7 separate regions of the Homo sapiens genome follow, and all the other regions are linked to region 3. The links are contacts of gene promoters, found by promoter capture Hi-C in human tissues and cell types (Jung and others, 2019). All regions are on one chromosome and are shown on one strand. The core of a region is centred on a gene start or on the middle of the fragment in contact, and the rest is flanking DNA. Distances in the headings are between cores, read along the strand shown. Region 1 holds the start of MAFA (MAF bZIP transcription factor A). Region 2 overlaps EEF1D (eukaryotic translation elongation factor 1 delta). Region 3 holds the start of EPPK1 (epiplakin 1). Region 4 holds the start of RHPN1 (rhophilin Rho GTPase binding protein 1). Region 5 overlaps ZC3H3 (zinc finger CCCH-type containing 3). Region 6 overlaps ZC3H3 (zinc finger CCCH-type containing 3). Region 7 has its middle 9.7 kb from the start of MAFA-AS1.

Evidence for each region. Contacts are between HindIII fragments. The study calls those that stand out against the background at their distance.
Region 1: the fragment with the promoter of MAFA here is called in contact with the fragment with the promoter of EPPK1 in region 3 in 2 of the 25 tissues and cell types used here (dorsolateral prefrontal cortex and lymphoblastoid cells).
Region 2: a contact is called between a fragment that was not itself captured here and the fragment with the promoter of EPPK1 in region 3, in 2 of the 25 tissues and cell types used here (adrenal gland and lymphoblastoid cells).
Region 4: a contact is called between the fragment with the promoter of RHPN1 here and the fragment with the promoter of EPPK1 in region 3, in 2 of the 25 tissues and cell types used here (mesendoderm cells and spleen).
Region 5: a contact is called between a fragment that was not itself captured here and the fragment with the promoter of EPPK1 in region 3, in 2 of the 25 tissues and cell types used here (lymphoblastoid cells and spleen).
Region 6: a fragment that was not itself captured here is called in contact with the fragment with the promoter of EPPK1 in region 3 in 7 of the 25 tissues and cell types used here (H1 embryonic stem cells, heart left ventricle, lymphoblastoid cells and 4 more).
Region 7: a contact is called between a fragment that was not itself captured here and the fragment with the promoter of EPPK1 in region 3, in 2 of the 25 tissues and cell types used here (lymphoblastoid cells and spleen).

What each region holds. Positions count from the first base shown.
Region 1 is chr8:143,429,179-143,432,593 of GRCh38, forward strand. It overlaps MAFA (MAF bZIP transcription factor A), which reads right to left and starts at 1,554. Exons shown (of 1, transcript NM_201589.4): 1 at 1-1,554. The coding sequence starts at 1,228. The coding sequence ends at 167. RefSeq lists a silencer at 1,471-1,910. The HindIII fragment of the contact is 28,870 bases long and covers 1-3,415 here.
Region 2 is chr8:143,588,259-143,591,468 of GRCh38, forward strand. It overlaps EEF1D (eukaryotic translation elongation factor 1 delta), which reads right to left. Exons shown (of 10, transcript NM_001130053.5): 3 at 733-1,823. The coding sequence starts at 1,823. Among named protein-coding and RNA genes, the nearest start is that of EEF1D, 7.6 kb to the right of the region's middle. RefSeq lists enhancers at 829-1,330, 1,331-1,830. The HindIII fragment of the contact is 8,109 bases long and covers 1-3,210 here.
Region 3 is chr8:143,876,746-143,879,844 of GRCh38, forward strand. It overlaps EPPK1 (epiplakin 1), which reads right to left and starts at 1,722. Exons shown (of 2, transcript NM_031308.4): 1 at 1,693-1,722. RefSeq lists a silencer at 1,776-1,865 and an enhancer at 2,432-3,074. The HindIII fragment of the contact is 27,880 bases long and covers 1-3,099 here.
Region 4 is chr8:143,367,236-143,370,512 of GRCh38, forward strand. It overlaps RHPN1 (rhophilin Rho GTPase binding protein 1), which reads left to right and starts at 1,641. Exons shown (of 15, transcript NM_052924.3): 1 at 1,641-1,812. The coding sequence starts at 1,753. It overlaps RHPN1-AS1 (RHPN1 antisense RNA 1), which reads right to left and starts at 1,400. Exons shown (of 1, transcript NR_026785.1): 1 at 1-1,400. RefSeq lists enhancers at 599-1,154, 1,895-2,802, 2,803-3,277 and silencers at 1,318-1,387, 1,398-1,857, 2,058-2,107. The HindIII fragment of the contact is 34,419 bases long and covers 1-3,277 here.
Region 5 is chr8:143,531,824-143,534,958 of GRCh38, forward strand. The region is part of intron 3 of ZC3H3 (zinc finger CCCH-type containing 3); the gene reads right to left. Among named protein-coding and RNA genes, the nearest start is that of ZC3H3, 8.1 kb to the right of the region's middle. The HindIII fragment of the contact is 6,167 bases long and covers 1-3,135 here.
Region 6 is chr8:143,508,178-143,511,464 of GRCh38, forward strand. The region is part of intron 3 of ZC3H3 (zinc finger CCCH-type containing 3); the gene reads right to left. Among named protein-coding and RNA genes, the nearest start is that of SNORD149, 3.6 kb to the left of the region's middle. The HindIII fragment of the contact is 8,123 bases long and covers 1-3,287 here.
Region 7 is chr8:143,396,797-143,400,221 of GRCh38, forward strand. No RefSeq gene overlaps it. Among named protein-coding and RNA genes, the nearest start is that of MAFA-AS1, 9.7 kb to the right of the region's middle. The HindIII fragment of the contact is 5,490 bases long and covers 1-3,425 here.

The DNA.
Region 1 (3,415 bases), core at 304-2,803, 450 kb before region 3:
GAGCGAAGGGGCCTCCAGCCCCGCGCCCGCAGACTTGGCACCGGGGCCAGCACGGCCGGGCCGGGCCTGGTGTCCACGTCCTGTACCGCGGAGTCCGAGCCGAGGCCCCGAGAGGCCTGCGCGAACTTGTCCCCGGCGACGGCGGCGCGGGCTCGGGGTCCGGCGCCTACAGGAAGAAGTCGGCCGTGCCCTTGGCCCCGCCGGGACCGGCCTGCGGCGGCGAAGGCTCCCGCGGGAAACCGGCCCCGCCCGCGCTCCCGGGGCCGCCCCGGCCCGCCAGCTTCTCGTATTTCTCCTTGTACAGGTCCCGCTCTTTGGCCAGGCGCCCCACCTCCAGCTTCAGCTGCTCCACCTGGCTCTGGAGTTGGCACTTCTCGCTCTCCAGAATGTGCCGCTGCTGCACCCGCTTGAAGCGGCAGGACTGCGCGTAGCCGCGGTTCTTGAGCGTGCGCCGCTTCTGCTTGAGCCGGATGACCTCCTCCTTGCTGAAGCCGCGGAGCTGCCGGTTCAGCTCGCGCACCGACATGGACACCAGCTGGTCGTCGGAGAAGCGCTCCTCCAGGCGCACGTGGTGGCCCGCGCCACCGCCGTGTCCCGCGCCGCCATGGTGGTGGTGGTGGTGGTGGTGGTGGTGGGCGGCGTGGTGATGGTGGGCGGCGTGGTGCGCGCCGTGGTGGTGGCCGGCGCCCATGTCGTCCGCTCCGCCGCCGCCCGCGAAGCCCGGGCCGCGGAAAGCCTCGTAGGCTGCGGCGGCCGCCGGGTGGTGCGCGCCGTGGTGCGCGCCGTGGTGGCCGCTGCCGATGAGCGCCTCCACCGCGTCCTCGGGCGTCAGGTTGAGCGCCTCGGGGTTGAGGTGATGCTGGTAGCCGCTCATCCAGTACAGATCCTCCAGCGCCGGCTTCCCCGAGGTGCCCCCGACGGCGCCGGGGCCCCCGCTCGGCGGCCCGGGGGCGCCCCCGGCCTGAGACGAGCCGCCGCCGCCCCCCGCGCCGCCGCCGCCGCCGGTGCCCGGGCTGGGCGCGCAGAAGCTGGGCGAGGAGGGCACGGAGGAGCAGGGCGTGCTGAGCGGCGTCGAGGACAGCGAGCCTGGCGGCAGGCGGTGGCAGAAGCGCTCGGCCTCGGGAGGCTCCTTCTTCACCTCGAACTTCATCAGGTCGAAGTCGTTGACGTACTCGATGGCCAGCGGGCTGCTGGGCAGCTCGGCGCCCATCGCCAGCTCCGCGGCCATCGCCCGGGGCCCGCGCCCGGCCGCGCCCCGACGGGCGGCGTGGGAGTGGGGGGGGAGCTGCAGGCCTCTCCCCCCCCTGCTCCCCGCGGGCGGCGGTCCCGGCGGGGGCGGGGGGGCGCCGGCGCGGGGCGGCGGCGCCGAGGGGCGCAGGGAAAAGTTTCACGTGGTCAACTCCGGGGCGGCGCGCTAGGGGCACCGCTGGCCAGGTGTCTCGGGCGACCCCGGGCCCGCGTCGCCGCCTCCTCCCCGCGGCCGCCGCCTCGGGCTGCTCCGGGACCGCTCCCGCGCCCCACCCGCGCCGCCGGCCGGCCCCGCCTCCCACGGCTAAACGCGAAGCCGCGCGCGCCCCTTTATAGAGCCGGGTGCCTGGGCCCGCCTCCCCGGGAGGGGCGCGCGCCCCCGGGCCAATCGGAGCCCCAGCCCCGCCGCCCTCATTTGCTTATCCCCATGGCAACTCAGAGCCCAGCTGTCAATCTCCTGCGGGAAACAGCTGTGGGAAGAGGTAGGGACGGGCCGCCGGCTAGAGGAGAGGGCAGGGCCCTCTGGTGGCCATCACGGGGCACTGCACGGGCAGAGGGCGCGCCGCCTCAGGGGACAACTGCCGTCTCCAGGGGCCTCAGCTCCCACACCCGGCGGCCGGAGAGTCCGGGGAAGCAGACGGGGACCGCGCCCGGGGACCCCCTCGGGGCCTCGTCCGCCTCGGGCCACGCGGCGGGACGCCCCCTCGGCCCCCTGGGTTTGCGGCCGGGCCTGGGGGCCGGGGGCAGCTCCGCTAGCGGCGGCGGCGGCGGCAGCGGGACCTCCGGGCCTCTGGACACGGGTGACACCGCGCGGCCCGGCAGAGCGCGGCGCGCTGAGCCGGTTATTTTTAGCCCGCGGCTCAGACGCGTTCAGGAATTTGGTCAACAAAGTTGCCGGCACCTCCGGGCACCGGGAAGCACGGGGCGGGCGGAGGGGGACACACGCGTGCGGGGCGGCGCGAGGGGCCGGGGACGGAGGGCCGGCTTGTGGGGGGCCGCGGAGAGCGCAGGACTGTGGGGGTCGCGGGACAACGCGGGTGGGTGCGAGCGGCGGGGGCGGGGCCCACGGGCTGGCAGCCCCTCAGGGCGTTAGGAATCCCCGCCCAAGCGGCCACCACTGCCCACTTTCGCCCCCCGCAGGGCTGGAGGCGCCTTGCTGGGCCTGGAGTGGGACGGGGGGTAACTGAGACGGGAAGGCGGGGATTTCCACCTGGCGGCCGTGCACCTGCTGGGAGGAGACGGCTCCGGTTCACGGGGCAAAGGAGGTGACGATGGGCGGTGGGCCTGTGACCCCAGGTCCCCGACACCAGCGAGCCGGGTGATGGGAGGGTTGCGCCAGGAGTTACAAGGCCGGTGACCCGAAGTGGGCCTATTGTTTCTTCTCGAAATTCTCTCCATTGCTGTTCTATGACTTCAGCAATTTAAAAAAAAAAAAAAAAAGTCTAAAATGTAACCACCTGTGTAGAGAAAAAAAGCCTGGAAGGAGTTGCGCAGAGGCCACAGGGAGGCCTGGTCACGGCGCCGCAGATTTAGTACCAGGCTCTCACCTCCTTCCCTCTACAAAGATCTATTGTTTTGTAACAAGAAGACTGTCATGAAGTGAGGACTGAACATCTGCTTCCTAAGGTGTCTCGGGGTGTCCCTGGCCCTTCCCTGGGCCCTCCCACTCCTCTGGGCAGAGCTGGGACTGCTGATTTGGGAAGACCAGGCCTTCCTCCCCGCAAGGGAGGGCCAAGGACAGCATGAGGACCCACCTGCAGGGACCCCTCTCCCCCGATCCTGTCCCAGAGGGGGCTCTGAGCTCCCCACCCTTCTACAGATGAAGAAATGAAGTGGGCATGCAGCAGAGCCAAGTCCCCACACTGGGTACCTGGACTTGAGACCACACGAGTGGTCAGCCAGCCAGGGGTGTGGGGTTTCCTTTATGGCACCCCGTGTTGAGAGGGAGGCCCGGGAAGGGAGGATGCCGCCGCGCAGTGGAGCTGGTGGTAGTCCAGGTTGTCTGCACCTGCAGCCCCAGGAGAGGCCTTGGGGCTACAGGGCCCTCCCACGGCCCCTCCAAGGGTCTAGCAGCATTTCTGGGTACCACACCCTGGAGGCCCTGGGGCACACTGGAAAGGGGGTTGAGGAGGAAAGAGAGAGTGTTTGCACCGGGCTGTGTCCCCAC
Region 2 (3,210 bases), core at 669-3,168, 290 kb before region 3:
TCAGCCCGCCCCACCACCAGGACACCCTCGCCAACAGGCCAGCCTCGCCACTTCCATGCCCTCTGTATTCCCCTCCAAGTCCAATCGTCCACCCACCTGCCTGGCCCCAGAGACCGCTGCTGGGGTTGCACCTGCACCCTGGAGCAAGCCCACAGCACCCAGAGGGAGGTCACACAGACGGGGCACCCTGGGATGGAGGCCACCTGACCAGCCACATGCCCATGCATCTGAGACGCCACCACCTTCCCTCAGAGGTGGTTTCAGGTGACAAGGAAAGCTGGGGGTGCACAGGATGGACAGGCAGGGACACACTGGCTCCCACATCTCATCGCAGGGGAGCGCTAGGGCCAGAAACCAGCTTCAATGCTTCCCGCCCCTATAAGTAGCCTTATCTTCTCAGCCCTGGCATGTGACAGCCACAGGGGACTTGGGGAGCTTCCCAGCCAAAGAGGGACCCTGGGCAAGGCAGAGATTCTGCCCTGTGCTGAGCCCTTCCCTGCCCTCATCCAGGCAGCCTGGAACTTTGTAACCTCAAGCAGTGTCCCTGGAACCCACAAGCGCAGCACCACCTTTACTCAGCCTGCTCCTGCATTCAACTCTGCTGGGCCCACGGGTCTCGGGGAGCCCCCACCCCAGGTGGGCAGGGGAGGAAGCTGGAGGAGCCCCAGCCTGGGATGGCTGTCCCTGTGCCCACAGCCCAGGCTGGGTGCCCACCCAGCACGTTTCTCCTACTTGGGTCTCAGGCTGGACACGGACAGGCCAGACCGAGGACCGGGTCGGTGAGACAGGGAGGCAGCTTCGAGGCACCAGGCCACCCGCAGGGCCTCGGCAGCGTGGTGGCGGCACTCGGCGCTGTCGTAGGCAGGCTTGCTGAGCCAGGGGGCCTCTGCATCCTTCTGCAGGAAGTAACAGTAGGGCAAGGCAGAGGGGGCCTCCCCATCGGCCCGTCGCAGCCCGGCCCGCTTGTTCCCTAAGATGTTGCGGCCCCGCCGGTCTCTGCGGCCCCGCCGGGCACCCTCGGCCAGGCCGGCTCGCTCTTGCAGGCGCACCTTCCCTGGGGGATGGCCGTCAAACAGGGCCTCGTAGAAGCCCCTCTCGGCTGCATCATACCGGGGCTTCTCCAGCCACACCTCCCGAACCAGTGCCTGCAGGCTGCCCAGCGGGGGCTGGCCATTGACCGGTGGGCTGGGCTGGTGGGCCAGGTCGGGGACGGCCACCTGCTGGCCTGTGTTGGGAGTCCCCTGCCTGCGGCTGCCGTCGGGGGCCAGCAACAGGGCCTGAGACCACTCCACGAAGGCCCGCTCAGCCTGGTCGAAGGAGGACTTGTTGACCCAGATCCCCCAGGTCACGTGGTGGCAGGCCACCTGGTTTCCATGGGTGCAGAGACCCCAAGGGGCCAAGGCAGGAGGCCAGGCTGCCTGGGCAGCCACATCTGCCAGCTTCTGGCGGTAGGAGCTCTCTGCCTGGTCGAAAAGTGACTTGTCCAGCCACACGCGTTCGGCCGAGAGGCCCAGGAGGGCCAGGTCCGCGGGGCCGAGCCCGCTCTTGGGGGAGCGCTTCCTCTTTTTCTGCAGGGGCTTCCTGCTGTCCTGGCTCTTCCTGGGATCACGCCTGCTGCCGCCGTCAGGGGCTTCCGCCTCATCAGCGTCCTCAGGGTCGTCCTGGCCGGGCCCATTCATGGCTGGCCCCTCGGCTGGCAGCTGCTGGGCGGAGGCGGCCGCCTGTGTGGCCTCGTGTTCGTAGAAGCGCCGCTCGGCCTCCTCATACTTGTGCTTGTCTTCCCACACGGTCTCCAGGGTGCAGGAGGCCTTCCCGCTCCTCATCTTCCGGACACAGCGATAAAAAGCAAGCAGAGGGCAGAGTTGCAACACAGCGGGTGGCCGCAGCCCCGTGCCCACCCTCCCCGTGCCCGCCCTCCCCGTGGCTGCCCTCCCTGGGCAGGGGCTGAGGATGCTCCCCAGTGGGGCTTCCATGAGATGACATTCGAGGACTTCGAAGTCAAGCCCATGTGGGGACGTTTTGTTGTGAAGAGAAAACAGGCCGGGCGCAGTGGCTCATGCCTGTAATCTCAGTACTCTGGGAGGCCAAGTGCCTCCCAATACATGAACAATATATAATTTTGTTAGTGAATGTATGGCCCATGAAGTATCTGAGACATACTTACACTAAAAATTTTTCGTCATTTATCTGAAATAAGCTTTAACTGGCTAACTAGCTTTCCCTGCATTTTTCCACAGGCCAGGCCTGGCCACCCCACCATGGTGGCTGGTGTTCCCATTCTACAGAACGGTCTCTGTGGCTGTCCTGGCCACACCACTGCCACACCCAGAGCACCCTCAAAGTTCTTACAAAAGAAGGAGCCTCGGCCAGGCACGGTGGCTCACACCTGTAATCCCAACACTTTGGGAGGCCGAGGCGGGCGGATCACAGGGTCTGGAGACTGAGACCATCCTGGCTAACACGTTGAAACCCTGTCTCTACTAAAAATAAAAATAAAAATTAGCCGGGCGTGGTGGCAGGCGCCTGTAGTCCCAGCTCCTAGGGAGGCTGAGGCAGGAGAATGGCGTGAAGCCGGGAGGCGGAGCTTGCAGTGAACCGAGATGGCGCCACTGCACTCCAGCCTGGACAACAGAGCAGGGGAAAAGAAAAAAAAAGAGGGAGCTTCTTTGTGGGCCTGACTGTCCTCCCCAGGAGGGGGCCAGGTGGCCGGGCAGAGGGTGGAGTGCCCACTCATGAAGGAGACGCCAGGGAGGATGCTGGTGACCACTGTGTAGAAAGGAGGGGCCAAGCGCCTGGAGCACTGAGACGGCTCTAGGCTCTCTATCAGCTGCCCCCGCCTCCCAGCTGGAGTCCATACCTTTGGGTCCATCCAAGCTAAAGGGGAATCATGGGGCTCTCACAGTCCCAGGACATCAGGGCCCCCTCTAAGGTTTTGCTTCTGTGTAATGTTAAGAGGGACCATCTTGGTGGGAGGCAGGTTGTGAGGCTCCACTCCCCACTTGCTACTGTGGCCTGGGAGCCTCAGCCTCCTCCCTGGATGAGGTGTTCCCTCAAGCTCTGGGCGACCTCAGTCACCTGCTGCCCCAGTGCTCCAGCAGCCATGTGGGATCCTGCCGGGGGCACGCTCTGCTCCCAGGTGTCCAGTGTGGTGTTACAGAAAGGACAGGCCCAGAAGGCCAGGGGCAAATCTGCTCTTGGGATGCAGGTCAG
Region 3 (3,099 bases), core at 472-2,971:
ACGAGGGGCTTCTAGGGGGTCAGGGCCCTGCCCTGTCCCCTGACATCCGGCCAGGGATGGCGGTGAGGAAATGAGAGGAGCACCTGATTTCCCAGCAAGGGGGAGGGGCAGTGCGGGCCAGGGTGGGGCAGGGCCAGCGAGGGCGGGGCAGGGCCAGTGAGGGTGGGGACAGCACCTTGGGCGGGCCCCTGACCTGCGCACAGGCCGCCAGCCCAGACAGGCCGCGTGCTAAGCGGGCCTCGTAAGCTCAGGCAAGTGGCTCAAGTTCCCCAAACAAAGAGGAGATCCAGGGAGGAAGGCTGGAGACAGGGCGCTTGGGAGCAGGGAGTCGGGGGCAGGCTTGCCCTGCGTGTGTGAGTGTGCCTGCCAGTGCATGCCCCGCACCATGCGTGAGATGCGGCCTGTGGCTGGCTGCACCACTCCCTATCTCTTCCTGACCTTGGGCCTGGTATGAACCCCTCTGGGCCCTGCCCCTTCCCTGGGCCCTGCCCCTTCCCAGGCTTGGCAGGAGGAAGGCCCGGGAGTGGGTGTCTTGACTCCATGTGGGGCCTGGGAGGGCAGCTGGACAGAGGGTCCGGAGCGAGGGGGGGCAGGGGGTGCAGCTTCGAGTGTGGGGGCATCTGGAGGAGGTGGCTGCTGCCTAGGAGAGCACGGGGTCAGGGTTAGGGTGATGGGGTGGGGAGGAGGCCGAGCAGATTTCCCCGGAGCCTGAGGCACAAAGGGCCCCTCCTGTGGATTCCCCACTTCAGGTGGCCCCCAGGCCCCAAGTGGTGGAGGGCCGTTCCTGAGGAGGGTGGGTCTGCATCTCTTGGGTGAGGTCACTGTCTGTCACCAGACTGCCCGGCAGGCCCCCACCGCAGCCTGGGACAAAGGTTGGGGAGGCTGCAGCCGCCTGCCTGAGTCAGGTCAGGACAGACCCTGGCAGCTGCCTGGGCCCACACAGGAGGCAGCAGCCTTAGCTTCTGCCCGGCTGTGTGCCCTTGTGGGAAGACCCCACCCACCTGCAACCTGCACCATGATCAGAGATCAGTGGCCCCAATAACAAGCTTGGCACAGTGCAGCGGGGGCCCAGGGCAGGGAAGCAGAGCCCTGGGCCCAAGTGATGAACAGGGCCCTTCCTGCCTCTGCCTCCCACGGGTCTCCAGGCGACCGTGTGACCGCTTACCTGACCCGGAGTGGCCACCCCTGGGACCGCTCACCCAACAGCAGGCAGCTTCCCCGGATCCGTGACGCCTCCCTCCCGGCAATGTTGCCAGGAGTCACCCCTCTCAATTTGTCGGCCTAGCTGCCTCCTGGCCTGGGCGTTCCCCACCCTGCAGAGCGTGCCCCGGGCGGTCCTCGCTGCAGGGAAAACCGCTGGGCCTGCGAGACCCCCGCCCCTGGCCGCCTCTCCCGTGAGGGCTCGGGGCCGGCGCCTCCTCTTCACCGGCGCCCGGGACTCAGGGGCGCCACTTCGGACTCGGAGCTCAAATTGCCCAGGGCGGGAAACCTGCCCGGCCAGAGCCCAAGACCCCGCTGGCCGCCGCGCCCCTACCCTGGCCTCGGCGTGCGGCTCCAGCGGGGATCCGGTTTCCTTCGGCGGCCGCCGCCCCGCCCGGCCCCGAGCCCGCACCCGCACCCGCCGCACCTGCCCGCACCCGCCGCACCTGCCCGCACCCGCCGCACCCGCCGCACCCGCCGCACCCGCCGCACCTGCCCGCTCGCCGCTCGGTCCGCAGTGTCTCCGCGCGCCCGCTCCGCCCGCATTTCAAGCCCCACAGGCCCCGCCCCCGTCTAGGGCGGCGCCCAGGTCGGGGCCCCGACGCGGGGCGGGGCGGGGCGGGCAGGTGCCGGAAACCCCGCGCGGCCCGGGCCTGGCGCTTGCACCCCGGGCAAGGGGCGGCGGCTGGGCAGCCGGGACCCTCCCCTCGTCCCCAGCAGGGAGTCACCGCGAAGGAACGCAGGGCGGGCGCGGAGGCGTCCTGTGCCCTTCAGAACAGCTTTTTTTTTTTGGGAAAGGAGTTTGGAGTGAAACGCGGACCGGCCAGAGCGGCGGTTTCTATCCCCACAAGCCACTAATGCGGTGCGGGCTGGTGTCCCTGCCTCCAGCCCCGACCCCACCTTGTCTGCTCAGCTTCCTGGGGACGCTGCTTCACGTCGTGTGTCTGCTGGGTCCAGGGGTCTTCAAGGCTCTCCTTGGCAGGCCCCCCTGCCCCCATGACGTTGTAAGAGCTGGGATGTCCTGCCTGGAGCAGTGCCAGGCCTCACCCCCCGGTCTGGCTCCTCCACCTGGGCACAGAGAATGTTCCCTGTCACCCTGGGAGTACCTGGTCCCCTCTCTGAAGCCCATCCTGGCACCCACCTTCCAAGGCTGGGGCATGCCAGAGACACTGGGCATGGAGGCTCACAGCCTCGGGGGCTGGCCTGGGGGCAGCCTCAGCCTGGCACGGGAACCTTCCATGGATCTTCTGGAGGGCCCTCCCCTTGGCTGCCCCGATATCCCAGGTGGGCAGGGCCACGGAAGTACAGGGCCCAAAGCCCCTCCTCCTCTGTCCCCAAGGCCCCTCCTCCTCTGTCCCGTAGTCCTGGAGGTCCTGAGGGCTCAGGTGCTCCCCACCCCCACAAGTGCCCCCTTCTCCCAAGCTCCAGCCCCCACCTCTGCCTGAGTCATTCTTGACCAGAAAATCATCCAGAGCCAGCCAGCCACCTCCAATGCACACCATGAGGGTAATTGCAGGCGCCCACGCAGGTGCAGGAGGGACAGGTTAGGCCTTCAGGGGTTAGGGTGCTTGGGACCACTGCCCTGGCTCTGCTCTCACCCACCCACCAGGTCCACACTCACACCTGCTCACCCAGGCTGCCTGGACCCTGTCCACACCTGCCACACTGGCCGCACAGCATGGCTGCTGCCGACTGCGGGGCCCTGACCCCAGAGGAGCTCTGGTGGAACCCGCATTTCCCCAAGGCACTGCCAGGCCAACCGCATCCATCCCCAGCCCTGCTCACCGGATGCCTGGACACTGTCTGTGTGGTCTTGCTGGGAGGCATGGTGGTGCTGGCTATGGCCTGTGGCCTGGAGCACACCCCAGAGCCACTTCTTCCTGCGGTGAGCCATTGCAG
Region 4 (3,277 bases), core at 391-2,890, 510 kb before region 3:
TCCAGCACTTTTGGGAGGTTGAGGCAGATGAATTGCTTGAGCCCAGAAGTTTGAGACCAGCCTGGGCCTGGGCAATGTGGCGAAACCCTGTCTCTACAAAATATACAAAAATTAGCCGGGTGTGGTGGTGCAAGCCTGTAGTCCCAGCTATTCAGGAGGCTGAGGTGGGAGGATCACATGAGCCCAGGAGGTGGAGGCTGCAGTGAGCTGTGATCGTACCACTGCACTCCGGCCTGGGGAACAGAGTGAGGCCCTGTCTCAAAAGGCCAGGAGTGGAAGACAGGCCCTAGCCAGGAGGTTTCGCGTGGCTGGCAGGGGCCTTATGAGAAGGCTGTTGCTGGGAGGGGCCTGCTGCAGATGGCTGCGGCAGACCACGGAGCTTAGCCTTCAGGATTTAGATCTGGGGATGACAGGCTCCTGTGTGCTTGTTGCGGAGCCGGGAGCACAGGCACCAGAATGATCCCAGGGCTCAGCTCCAAGGCTCCGCTGGGCCTGTGGTGGGGCAGTGAACGTGGACAAGACCTGGGCTTCAGAGGAACTTGATGACCAGGAGCCGTGGTTACCGCCTGTGCCCTGGCCTTCCTGCTCTTCAAAGGGTGTGTTCTGAGCTGAGGCGAGACCCACACGAAATCCGAGCGGGCTCCGGAGTCACCAGACACCTAGGGAAGTATGGAAGGCCCGGAAGGACACACACAGCCGGGTGAGCCCCGCAGGGAGCTGTGCAGTCTCAGGTCGTCCAGTCCTGGGGCTGCAGGCCAGTTCTCCAAGCAGGTGGTCCTGGAGGCAAGCTGGTTTTGAAAGTAGGTTCTGAAAATAGGTCAGTCCAGGAAACAAGCTCTGGAAGTAAAGAGATTCGGAAAGCAGGTTCGTTCTGGAAACAAGTTCTACAAACAGGTAGTTCTGAAAGCACGTGGGTTCCAGAGGCAGGTGCTAGAAGGATGTGGGTTCTGTACGGAGGTTCTGGAGGGAGGCGGGTTCTGGACGGAGGTTCTGGAAGGAGGCGGGTTCTGGAGGCCGGTTTTGGAAGCAGGACGACACCGACAGAGGCGCCTCGGACTGGGGCCAGGCCTGGAGCCTCCGCTCCGCGGGCAGAGAGAAGAAAGCAGGCATTGTCGGAGGACTCACACAAGCACTTGTCCCTAACAAAACCGTTTTTAAAAACCCCATTGTGAACATTTTTGGAACAAGCCTCTTAGAGGGTCCCGTTGCCGGGGTGACAGGACGAAACGGCGCGAGCGGGCAGACTCCTGGAGTCCCCGCAAAGGGAGCCGAGGAGCTAGGCGCGCCGAGTCCAGGTCCGCCCTGACTCTCAGCTTGGGACGTTCCGTATAGTTTTTTTCTCCGTTTCCCGAACTTCTCCCGCACGCTCAGCGGCCGCCGCGGCGCATGCGCAGTACAACCTGCCAGCCAGCCGCGGGCGTTCCGGCCGCGGTTGCCAGGGGTTACCGTCCCGCGGGCGGGCGGAGCTGGCCGTCCAGAGCCCGCCTTCCTGGAACTCTGGTTGGCTGATATAGCTGTCCGTCGAAGCGGCATTGCCGCCTATTGGGCAATGGCCAGCTTCGCACGCCAGACCCGTGCCCCGCCCAGCCGCGCCGCGGGCCGCCCCCACTCAGGAGGGACAGTCGGGGACCGGCGCGGGCACTCAGGAGCCCGCGGCCCAGGTGGTGCGGGCGGCCCTAGCCCGGCTGCGGAGCGCTGCGCGAGCGGCGGGCTGGCTGACCCCGAGGGACCCCCAGCGCAGCGGGTGCGGCGATGATCCTGGAGGAGAGGCCGGACGGCGCGGGCGCCGGCGAGGAGAGCCCGCGGCTGCAGGTGCGCAGAACTGGCGCGGCGGCGGGAGGAGGGGCCCGGAATCCCGGCCTTTTCCTGCCCCCCCTCGAGGCGCGTTCCGGGCGCCCCCCTCCTACGTCTCATTCGGCCCGGACGCAGGCAGGGAAACTGAGGCCAGAGCCTGCGTCCCTCCTCCTCTGAGCTCGGTGGAGGTGCTTCCAGGCCACTCATGTGAGCCGGGAAATGCGGACAGCCAAAGTCTGGATCATCCTCACCGCTGAAGCGGGTTGGGGGGACGCCCTCCTCGTGTCCCCCTTCTGGGCGGATGTGGGGCTGGGCTCTGTGAGCGCCCTCCCCACACCCGCCATCGTGTTCCTTTCCGGCACCTGTACAGCCTCCTTCCCTAGTTCGGTCCTCCCTCTGCATCCGCTCAGGAACTGCATGCCCATTGGGTGCACTGGTAGCAGCGGGCAGCGAAGCCTCCTGGGTATGGGAAACCGAGAGAGGTCTTCCCGGCTGGCCTCTTCTCACTTCCCAAACCTCCTTCCCTTCTGAAGTCCCTAACCCGGGGTGCTGACTGGGCAAGTGGGAGGGGTGGGCAGGGCTGTGGAGACCTGCTGAGTCTGTGCCTGGGAAGGAGGGGACGTCTGTGGGCCTTGCTCTGCAGCCCAGAGCCTGCTTGTTCCCTGCGGACCAGCTCGAGGCTGCCCCAGTCCTCCTGCCAGGCCCTGGGCGCCCACGCCCGCCACGGGCTTTCAGCCGCGGGCTGCTCCTGCTCCTCGCCCCGGGTGAGCCTTTGATAGCGCGCGGCCCTCCTCCCCTCTGGGACGTCAGACTGTGTTGTCCCTGGGCTGGTTCTACTCGGCTTTGGTGTTTGGGGTTAGGTCTCCTAGAGGAGGAGGCGGTGCTATCAGCCAGGGTTTGGCTTCAGGTCACTGGGCTGGTGATGCTGACCGTAGCCCTCAAGGACGCCCTTCTTGCCCACCCCGAGGCGTGCCAGAGGCTGCAGCACCTCCTGGGCACTGGAGGGAAAGAGGCAGCCTGTGCCTGCCCCCTATGAACTTGCTCTGTCAGGGCGGCCATGCCTGCAGGTGGCCTGGGACGGCACATGTTGTTTTGGGTGGAATGTTTGGGAGGCTGTACAAACAAGATGTCCCAGAGGGCTCCGGAGGTGACGCTTTTCAGGCTGGGGGCTGTGCCTGGGCTCCCTGTCCTGGCCCTCCCTGGGCTGCCACCTTGGAAAGTTGGGGAGAAGCTGTTTCCAGGCTGCCGTGTCTCTCACAGCGTCCAGAAATGACCCCACAGTCAGGGTACTGGGGAGGGGCCCGTGGGAGGTGGCAGTGGGGCGGAGGCAGGCCCTGTGTCACACGCGCACCACTCAGGCTGTCCTGCCATCTGGAAAGTCTTCCCCGATGCCTGCTGCCGGGCTAGAGTGAGGCCTGTTCCACCCCCATCAGGCTGGCCCCCAAACTGGCCCTAAAGCTCAGAGTTCAGTGGGTCAGGGGTC
Region 5 (3,135 bases), core at 182-2,681, 350 kb before region 3:
TGAGCAATATAGTGGCAGGGCTGACCTCTTTCGCACGGGTAAATGTTTAAAATCTTTTCCCTGATTAATTTTGCCAGTTAAGAAAAAGAGGAGAAATGGCCCGGCTCTTAGCCATCACAATGAATAAAGCTTAATGTTGATTGTGACGGAATTTCTAATGCCAGGGAAATTGATTGAACGCGGCAATTACGCTGCAATAGTAACTCAGGGGAGATGGGATCGCTTTCTCCTGGCCGTAGCCTTTTGGTTATTTAAAATAATCCAATTTGCAAGGATAATTATGTATTAGCGTTTTATCTGCCACTTGAAATGAACAGGGGAGTTTCGATACTGGCCCAGCATTAGCAGGTTATTGCTGCAAATTACTTGGTATCTGCTTTCTTTCACATAAAAAGGAAATTACGCGATTACCAAAAAAGGGTGGACGGAGGCGATAGGAGGGGCAAGCATGCCCTCTGCTGGCCACTGGGCCGCACGGCAAGGCTGAAGTGCGGCGGGGGAGGGAGGCGGCAGCAGGGCTGCCTGGCAGCTTTCAGAAGCCCCTGTCCCTGGTGCATAAGTCCACAGGGCAGTCGTCCCCAGCTGGACACTGGGACACTGCCGTCTCCTTGAAGAGGAGAGGTGGAGCTGGAACTAAGCTTTTGCTGGGCAGAAAATGGGGAAAGAAAACTCCCAACAGCCAAATGAAGGAGCAGTCCCACCTGGCTGCCCCATCCACAGCCCACACGACCCCAGCATCCAGGAACGAACACCCCAGCCGATGGAGGCCTTGGCCACCCGGGAGGGCTGAAGGAGGGCCTGGGAAGGGCTCACTGGCTCACCAGAGCACTGCAGCGTTCAACGAAACAAAGCTGGGCCCTGCCCAGAAGCCCACTGGCCAAGGCAGAGGACAGGCAGGCCTCAGTTCCTAGGCAGGCAGGCAGGCATGGAGACGGTGGGCCTTGCAGGAGGGCACCTGGGGGAGCCACTCAACAGCTTCCTGGGCCCCAGCCTCCCATCTCCTCAGCAGACGCCCTGGCCACGCCCACCTCCCCTGCGGCCAGCTTGGAGTCTCACGGTGGCTGTCTCTGGGGTCAGCCGCCTGAGTGACCAGGCCAGGACGCAGGCTCGGCCTCTCACCTCCGCGCACATCTCCACGGGCTCCCTGCCTGCTTGAGAGCCTGCGGACTCCGCTCCTTGGCCTGGCGTCAGTGGCCTCACGCACAGGTCCTCCCGACTCTGCCCACTCGGGCCTGCCAGACACCCCGGGGCCCTGGACACGCCCCTCCCAGGGTCCTCCCCTGTCCCTCCCTGGCTTCCCAACGTAACCAGAACCAACCCCCCGTTCCCTCCTGTGGCCTACAAGACCCTTTCCCAGGACCTGGTCCCTCTGCCCCGTTGGCTGCATCCCCTCCAAGCCACACTCCCAGATGGTGAACTGGCCCCACAGCCTCCTTGTGCTCCAGAACACAGTAAGCTCGTTCCCACCTCCACCTCGGCCTCAGAGCTGAGCCCTATTCGCTCCTCTCTGCTCAGGTCACCTCCTCAGAGAAGCCCTCCCACTCGCCAACCACCTCTCTGCAGCTGGCCCTGTGCTCTCCCCCTGCCTGTTCCTCAGAAGGCATTTTCCACCCAGGAGCACCTTCCTGGCTGATGTACAAGCACTCCAGTGGCTGCCTGTCTCCACCACTGGAAGGCGGCTCCAGCCTCATCATCTCTTCACCTTCACTGCAGTATCCCCAGGAGCCGGCAGGCTGCCAGGCACAGTGACTCAACCACGCTTGCCAGTTGGGCCAGTGGTGGGCAAGTGAGTGGGACGCCTTCCCCACCCCTTCCTCAGACAGGACCCTCTCCTCTCACTCCATGCAGCCGCCACGCTGGTCTTTTTTTTTTTTTTTTTTTGAGACAAAATGTCACTCTGTCGCCCAGGCTGGAGTACAATGGCACGATCTAACCTCTGCCTCCTGGGTTCAAGTGATTCTCCTGCCTCAGCCTCCCGAGTAGATGGGATTACAGACGCTCGCCACCACACCCAGCTAATTTTTGTATTTTTAGTAGAGACGGGGTTTTGCCATGTTGCCAAGGCTGGTCTTGAACTCCTGACCTCAGGTGATCCACCCGCCTCGGCCTCCCAGTGTGCTGGGATTACAGGCATGAGCCACCACGCCCAGCCTCACGTTGGTCTTTAACTATGAGTTTGGCTGGGCACAGTGGCTCACACCTGTAATCCCAGCACTTTAAGAGACTAAGGCAGGAGGATCACTTGAGCCCAGAAGTTCAAGACCAGCCTAGGCAACAAAGCAAGACCCTGTCCCTACAAAAAAATTAAAAATTAGCCAGGCACAGTGACATGCACCTGTAGTCCCAGCTATTCAGCAGGGTCACTTGAGCCCAGGAGGTTGAGGCTGCAATGAGCTGTGACTGCACCACTGTACTCTGGCCTGGGAGGGAAGCAGGGCCCTGTTTCTAAAAACATTAAAAAAAAAAAAAAAAACGACGAGATCAATTACGCCCTTCCCTCTAGTGAGGCAGGACCGCAGCAGCCCCTCAGCTGTGCACTCCGAAATGGTCAGCCGGTGAAGCTGGTGGCCTCCCAAACCCACTCTTCCTGGCAGGAGTCCGGGGGGCGCCGAGCAAGGCCCCACCAGCAGGAAGCAACCTCCCCCATCCCCTGCCTATGCCCCACTCTACTAGAGGCCTGAAGAGGGAGCAGGCCAGGTGAGCAGGGCTGAACCTGCACCCAGTGGGGAGCCTCTCACCCCAACCACCACGCCATCTGCAAGCCTTGGCCTCCTAGGGCTCAGCAGACCCTGCTGGCCTCCCAGAGCTGGACACCTCCCCAACCCCTCCTCCCCAAGTGACCAGGGGATACCGCCAACTGTCCAAGCCACCCCTACCATCCACTCCCAGATAAGCCCACGACCTAACCACCATCCGGCCACCTCACTGTGGCCACCAGGGACCGCATGGGTCTCTGCTTGCTCCCTGTCACCAGGATGAAATCCACATGTCCTGGCGTGCAGCAGGTGTCGGCTAACGGGGTACAGCCGACCAGCGCCCCCAGCCCCACTTCCTCCCACCCCACTGTGCTGCAACACCCGGCTGCATCGCCCCATTCAGCCCTCCACCTGGGACCCAACGCCCTGCCCTCCCGCG
Region 6 (3,287 bases), core at 529-3,028, 370 kb before region 3:
CAGGAAAACCAGGAGAAGCCAGGGGTCTGGCAGCCGGGGATGCCTTGGAGTCCCCTAGACAGTATCCGCAACAGGGGGACTCGAGGTGGCTGACTGACTTCCAGCAGAGCAGTGAGGAAGGCAGATGGGCCACCTCCACCCAGGCCAGAGGGGCGGGGCTGGGAGGCTCCTGGCCTGTGCCCTGCACAGGGGAGGGGCGCTGGAGCACTCACCTCCTCAAGCGGCACCTCCTCACCGCTGTGCCCAGACAGACTTATGTACTTAGTCACTGTTTTCATAACATTTTGCAGGGTGATAGACACGACGGCTTTTTTCTTGCTGAATGTTTCATGCAATTAACAGGAATCTTTTGCCCGAGTTCCCTTCCACTTGATAGCTGGCAATTTACCCACAGCTTCGAGGGTTGCGTCTAATTGCCCAGCTTGCATCATGTACAGCTCTGACTGCCCAGATCATTAAAGCTAACTCAGCAGTGGGCACAGGCCCGCCTTCCCAACAGCTTCCCTGGCAGCCCAAGGCTCAGGGGCTGCTGCAAGAGGCCCCCGCCCCCCTCCACCCCCTTCAGGGTCGCCCACAGGAGGACCCCACCCAGCCCAGCCCAGGGGACCTCACTTCCTTCCAGTCAGTGCCCAGCTTCCCCTGTGCCCGGGACCCCTGACTGCCCAGGACACACCCTCTTGGCCCCCACAGCCAAACAGCCCTCGAGGCACCCTGCTCCTTGGACAGGACCAGTAACTGTTACCATTTCCCAAATTCTTTTCCAGAGCCCTAAACGCAACGGACCTTGAGCAGCCAGGGCCCCTCCTTGAGGCCGAGCTTCTAGCCCATCTCTCCACAGACTCGCTCACTCTCCTGCCCACACTGCCCTGTCCAGATGTCAGCAAAGAGCCCCTCCCTCAGGCGTTCCCCCAGCACCATCCAAGCTGCAGCCTCTACTCAGGCACCTGTCAGCCTGCACAGGAGCAAGTCAGGAACACTTGGCCCCAACATGACATCAAAGCCTTCCCCAGAGTCCCCCAGAGTCCACATCAGAGAGTCTGCCGATTGTATTTTCAAGGTCTTACAAACAAGGAGAAACCAGCAAAAAAATCAATAATAGCTTGTTTCAACTAAGCGCTGGAGAACGTAAGAAGTCCTTAAGTTATCAATAACCCCGAGGTGACCTCACCACCTTCCAGCCCTGCTGCAGGCTCCTTGCTTCTGCCTGAGGAGAGCATGGGCTGCCCGGCTGCTCCTGCCCCACCTGGGCCAAGCTGGGGGCCAGCCTTGGCACCTGGGCAGTCAGGGCACCCACTGGAGCACTGCCAGCCATGGGGCCGGGCCTCAGGGCTGCCACCAGCCCACCCCCAACCCCAGAGTGCCCAAATGGCCCACTTGCCAGCCTGCAGCCTGCTTCCCACCATGGCTTCCCACAAGCCTCCCAGGCCGCCCAATGCCTGCTGCTCTGGGACGCAGAGCCTGGGGCGATGCTGGCCCCTTGGAGCCACAGCATGACAAAGCTAGGGTACAGTCCTGCTCAGAGGCCAGGTGGGGCCAAGCAAGGCAGGAGGGACACTGGGCCACACTCGGGACACTGGGCCACCCTCGGGCCCCGGGGGTTCATGTTCCCCTCCCCATCAACCTCTTTCCCCAAATTCTAAGTACAGGAGCCCCCAGACCTGGCCCAGCTCCATTCCCGTCGCCAAATGCACAGCCTCCCTTCGGCTAAAATCACTTCTAACCTTGGGAACCAGAGCTCGCCCTCCCTCCCAGGTCCAGCACATGCCAAGTCCTCTAGGAATTCCCAGCCCCGACTGCACACAGGACTGGACTCTGCATTCTAGAACACTTCTGCCCAGGAGGGGCAGCTTGGGGCAGGCAGGGCCTGGCGGGCGGCGGCACCATGATCACACTCCTGCGCAGTGCTGGCAGTGGTCAGGTCAGGCTTCTTTGCCTTACTGCGTGTTACTTCTTAGTGCCCAAGTGTCACTCCTGAAAACCACACGGTAATAACGCAGCGCCAGCCTCTTGTCACAGCCCACTCAGGCTGGGCAGGTATATTCTGCACGTCACCTAGATAGACCCCTCTCCTACAGTCCCTACCAGACTGGGGGCACTTCAAGGGGCTCACAGTGACAAGGTGGCAGCTAGTGTGGGCCCAAGCTGGGCTCCAGCCTGCAACCCACCCCCACAGCAGGGTCGTGTCCCCCACGGCCTGGCCCTGCAGACCATGGGCAGTCCCTGTCATTCCCAGATGGGCAGCTCGGACAAGCTCATGACAACCCAGGATGAGCAGGGCACAGCCGGACAGATGGGTAGTAGCAGATGAATTCTGAGCTGGGCACCCAGCGACTGGCAGGAGCAAGGGCTCCTAAGACCATGCATGGCACACGGACCCAGAAAGTCAGGCTGCAGGAAGGAAGGGTCCCTCCCTGGCCCTGTTCCCCAGGGTGTGCAGCGATGGCGTGGGCAGGTGGCAAGGCTTGGGAGGCTGCAGGACGCTGCTCTGTAGCCAAGAAGGACCCAGGCAGAAACAGGCCTCTGCCCTCCTCCCTGAGGACACAGGCCCAGGCGCCCATCCCTCCTGGCTGGCTGGGGTTTGTGTAGATAATCGTGTTATTTAGATAGGATGTTGGTTTAATTCCCCTCATTACAGACTCCCAGGGCTGTAATTTTTTTTCTCCACGTGATGCATTCCCGTGGCACACTCCGCGCACATCAAACCCCTTGCGCCTTTATTGCCGGCGATGCCCCGGCCCGCGTTATCAGCCCCACACACGCAGCCCTCTCTGCCCGCCATCAAGAGGTCACTTCTAATGACTAATCGATCTCATTAGCTTTCCTAATTAAAAACTTTACTACCGCAATGGAAGACAAACTACAAAGAAACTGCTGGCATCATATGTGAATGAGATATGAGCCCATCCATCAGCAGGGTTTGAGCTCTTGCACACGGCACCATGCCCTCAGGCCGGGGACCAGGTGGGACAGCCCTCAGGCACCTCGAGAGCCCTGCTGTGTACCAAGCACCACATGCCCAATGACGCATCATCAGGAGGGCGGCCGCTGAGGCTGGGCCCGGCCATCAGGGGTCCAGGAGTCCTGCAGAGCCTGGCCCTGCCCACCCGGCTCACTCTCCTCGGACAATTCCAACACAGATGGCTGGTCTGATCAGATGGGGGTCGCAGCCTTGCTCTGTTTTATGTGGAGCAGGAGTGAGGGAGAGTTCAGATTTTTATGGAACTTCAAAGGGAAATAACTAGGAAGAAAATAAGTTGCTAATTTCACAATTGGTTAATGAATAAGAA
Region 7 (3,425 bases), core at 522-3,021, 480 kb before region 3:
GGGAGTTAAGGCCCCTCAGTGACTGGACTGAGGCAGAATTGCTCCTTCTGTTGAGCCCCAAATCCCACTGCCAAGATAGGGTCCCAGGCCTGAGGACCTCCCGCCAACACCAGAGCCCCACGCATGGGGGTGCTCCCACTCCGGCCTGCCCTGTCCCGGACGCCAACCCAGCGAGGGTGCGGAGTGCAGGGCGGGCGCAGACAGCGAAGGCCTGCAGTGGCTGCCTGCCAGGCTGGGAAGCTCCAGTGGCCTGAGGGTCCCAGATTCCACTGCCATCGAGGGAACTCCCTCCCCGCACCCCCAGCATTGACTCCTCTGTTCCAGGAGCTGGACCCTGACTGTATGTGGCGCCTGCCTCCAGCCCTGCTCTTCCCAGAGCCCTCCTGGGTCTGGCCTGGGCCAGGCCTGCCCTCCAGGGACTCCCACAGGGTGCTGGGCGGCAGGGCCCCGCCCATGCCCTTCTGCTCAAACCTTGGGTGCTCTACCCTCCCACTGTCCCCTCCTGGACTGTCACTGTTCCTCCTAGGGGGCAGTGATGGAAGGGGCCCACCTACCCATATGTCCCCTGGTTCCCTCAGTCACCCCGACCCTGGCAGGAGGGTTAGGCTGGCCTCGTGAGCCCCAGGACAGGCTGTCCTGAAACGGTCACCTCCCAAGCCCAGTGTCCCACTCAGAGCTGGGCCTCCATAGAGGACCCCACAGGACGGCTTGATTACTTAAAATTGTGATTACGGTAAAATGTGTTACGATTTCAGCCATCTCTGAGGGTGCACCTGAGTGGTGTGAAGCGCGCCCACATCCTCGTGCCTCCAGAATCTTCCATCTTCCCAAACTGACTCTGTTCCCGTGAAACACTCGCCTCCCCAGCCCCCGTCCCCACCCTGTGAATCGGAGCCTCAGAGCCTTAGGTCACTGGGGTCACAGCATGTGTCCTGTGCCCACCACCTTCGCTCAGCATGGGGTCTCCCCAAGGGGCTCTGGCGAGGGGCGGGCATCCTTCTGGCTGGGCAGGTGGAGGGGCCCCTCACCCAGGAAGGGTGGCGGAAGCCAGAGAGGCCCTGAGGGTGAGGGTTTGAGGGCGGATGTGTGGGGGTGGGGCCGCAGTAACTACAGGCCAGCAGCAAATGGACAGCTCACAGCGGCCGGCAGAGAGCATTTTTAATGGTCCCTAAAGCCCTCAGCCAGCCAGCGCTGAGCTCAGCATCCCCTCGGTGAGCCTGGGAGGGGCGTGGGGCAGCCCGGGACCACCTCAGATATCTCCCACTGCCGCCTCTTCCCTGCCAGGACCCCCAGAACCCACCCAAGAACTCAGGGGCAGGGGACAGAGCCCTGCGGGTCCCCAGACCCCGGTGTTGATCGTTCCATGCTGGGCCGGAACTGCCCTGCCCTTGGGGACTCTGCAGGGATATTCGGAAGCTCCGCCAGCACCCCCGCCCTATTCGTCACAGGGCCCATTAGGTGCTGACAGTTGCTTCCCCATCTGCCTGGCTGGGGCGGGGCCAAGGCCCCAGGGGCCCATCCATCTTGGACCCTGGGGTCTTCCTCTTCCTCCTTGGTCTGGGCTGGAGGCCTCTGAGGGTGGCCTCCCCCAACCCAGACTCCGGGGTGGGGGCAGGCGTCTTCCGAGAAGGACAGCAGGGAGGAAGTGTGGGAGGAGGCGGCTCCCTGGCCAATAGGGCAGCGCAAGGCAGTCCCAGCACCATCACAGTCCAACCCTGGGGGCACCAGAACCCGGGGACTCCTGCTTGGGCTGGGGGAGCCTGGAGCTGATTTGTTAGCTCTCCCACCCCAACCAAGCTCATTCAGCTGGGGCTTTGGGCCTCAGCTGCCTATCACCTGGGCGGGAGGGTTCGTGGGAGGCCAGCTAGGCTCCAGGCAGCCCAGACAGGGTCCAGCCACCGGCCTTGTGGGACTGGGTGCCAGGTGTGGGGGAGGGAGCCAGCAGCTCCCCGGGGTTCCCCTTGGTTCAGCACCCAGGCCCAGCTGTGGGTACTGGGAGCCCAGGGCTTCTAGGAGCCTCCTCTGGGCCTGTGGGGAGGGTCTGGCAGTTTCTTCACTCTTCCCAGAGGGTGTGGGCAGGCCTTGGGTGCAAGAGATAGCCTGGCCCGGCACTGCAGCTGCCCTGGGGTCAGGACTGCCTGGCAGGCTGTGGTTTATTTATATGACCAGCTTATTTATTTATAGGGTTCTTGATGGGAGGTGCGGGCCCTGGCCTGCACCCCAGAGATATGCAAGCCCCACCGCAGAGGGGCAAGGGCGTACCCCTGGGCCATAGCCAATGCCCACTACTCCTCCGGGAGGCAGTCCTCAATTGCACACTCCCCTCCCGAACCCACCTCCTCCCTCGGTGGGGAAGCAGAGGCCACAGAGGTGAGCGTCACTGGAGGCGTGCCAGGACACAGCGCAGGACACAATGATGACATCAGTCTGATGTCACCACCTCTATTGAGCCCTGGCTCCAGGCTGCCCCCCTGTGATCCTGCTGGCTGTGGCTCCGTGAGGGTTGGGGGTGTCAGGGGCACTGGAGCTGGGCAGGGCTGAGGCAGTATGGACCCAGCCAAGCTCTGGGGCCACCAGACTCCCCTCCTGCCTTTCACACAGGGTGTCCAGATAAAATTCAGTACACCCAGGTACTTGTGAATTTTAGACAAGCAATGAATTTTTTTTTAAGTATAAGTATATCCCAAACAGTGCATGGGATATACTTAGACTAAAATGGTTTTGTTGTTTTTTTAATCAGAAATCTAAATGTAACTCCGCACCCTGGATTTTTGTTTGCTAAACCTGGCTGCCCTCCTGGCACTGGGCAAACACCTGCCCAGGAGCCCCCAGAGGAGAGAAAGACCTCGCCTTGGCAGGGGTGTGTCCCGGGAGGCTGGGACAGGCTGGCCACCCACACATCACTGTCCTTGCCCTGTTTCCTCTGTACTTCAACTTCCCACTTGCCCTGTGCCCCCACCCCTGAGGCCCGGATTAATTTGGGAAGGACAATGTTTATATTAACCATTCATTTATCGACGTCTGCTTGCTGGGTCAATGGCCAAATTTATTGTCTCACAAGATGGGCCGCGTCGAGCCGCGTGCAGCCTTCACCCTCCCCTGCCAGCCGGGGCAGTCGGCCGCTGTCAATACGCAGACCGCTGACCTTGGGCCTGCAGTCTGCTGGGGGCTGGGATCTCCCGGAGAGGCTTCTGGAGCAGGAAAGGGGTGGGCAGTGGGGTTCACCCCTGCATCACCCCGTTGCTGGGCTCAAGGGCCCACACTCACCCCCACAGCCAGGGGGGCACTGACACAGGCTGAGGGTTGGGCCCAGGCAGGGGGAGGGTACAAGCCCTAGAAGAGAGGCCCCTGGGGACCCCGGGCCACACCCCACTGAGCACCTGCTAACGGCCGGCTCGGGCTGCCAGTCTGATGGGGGAGGCAGT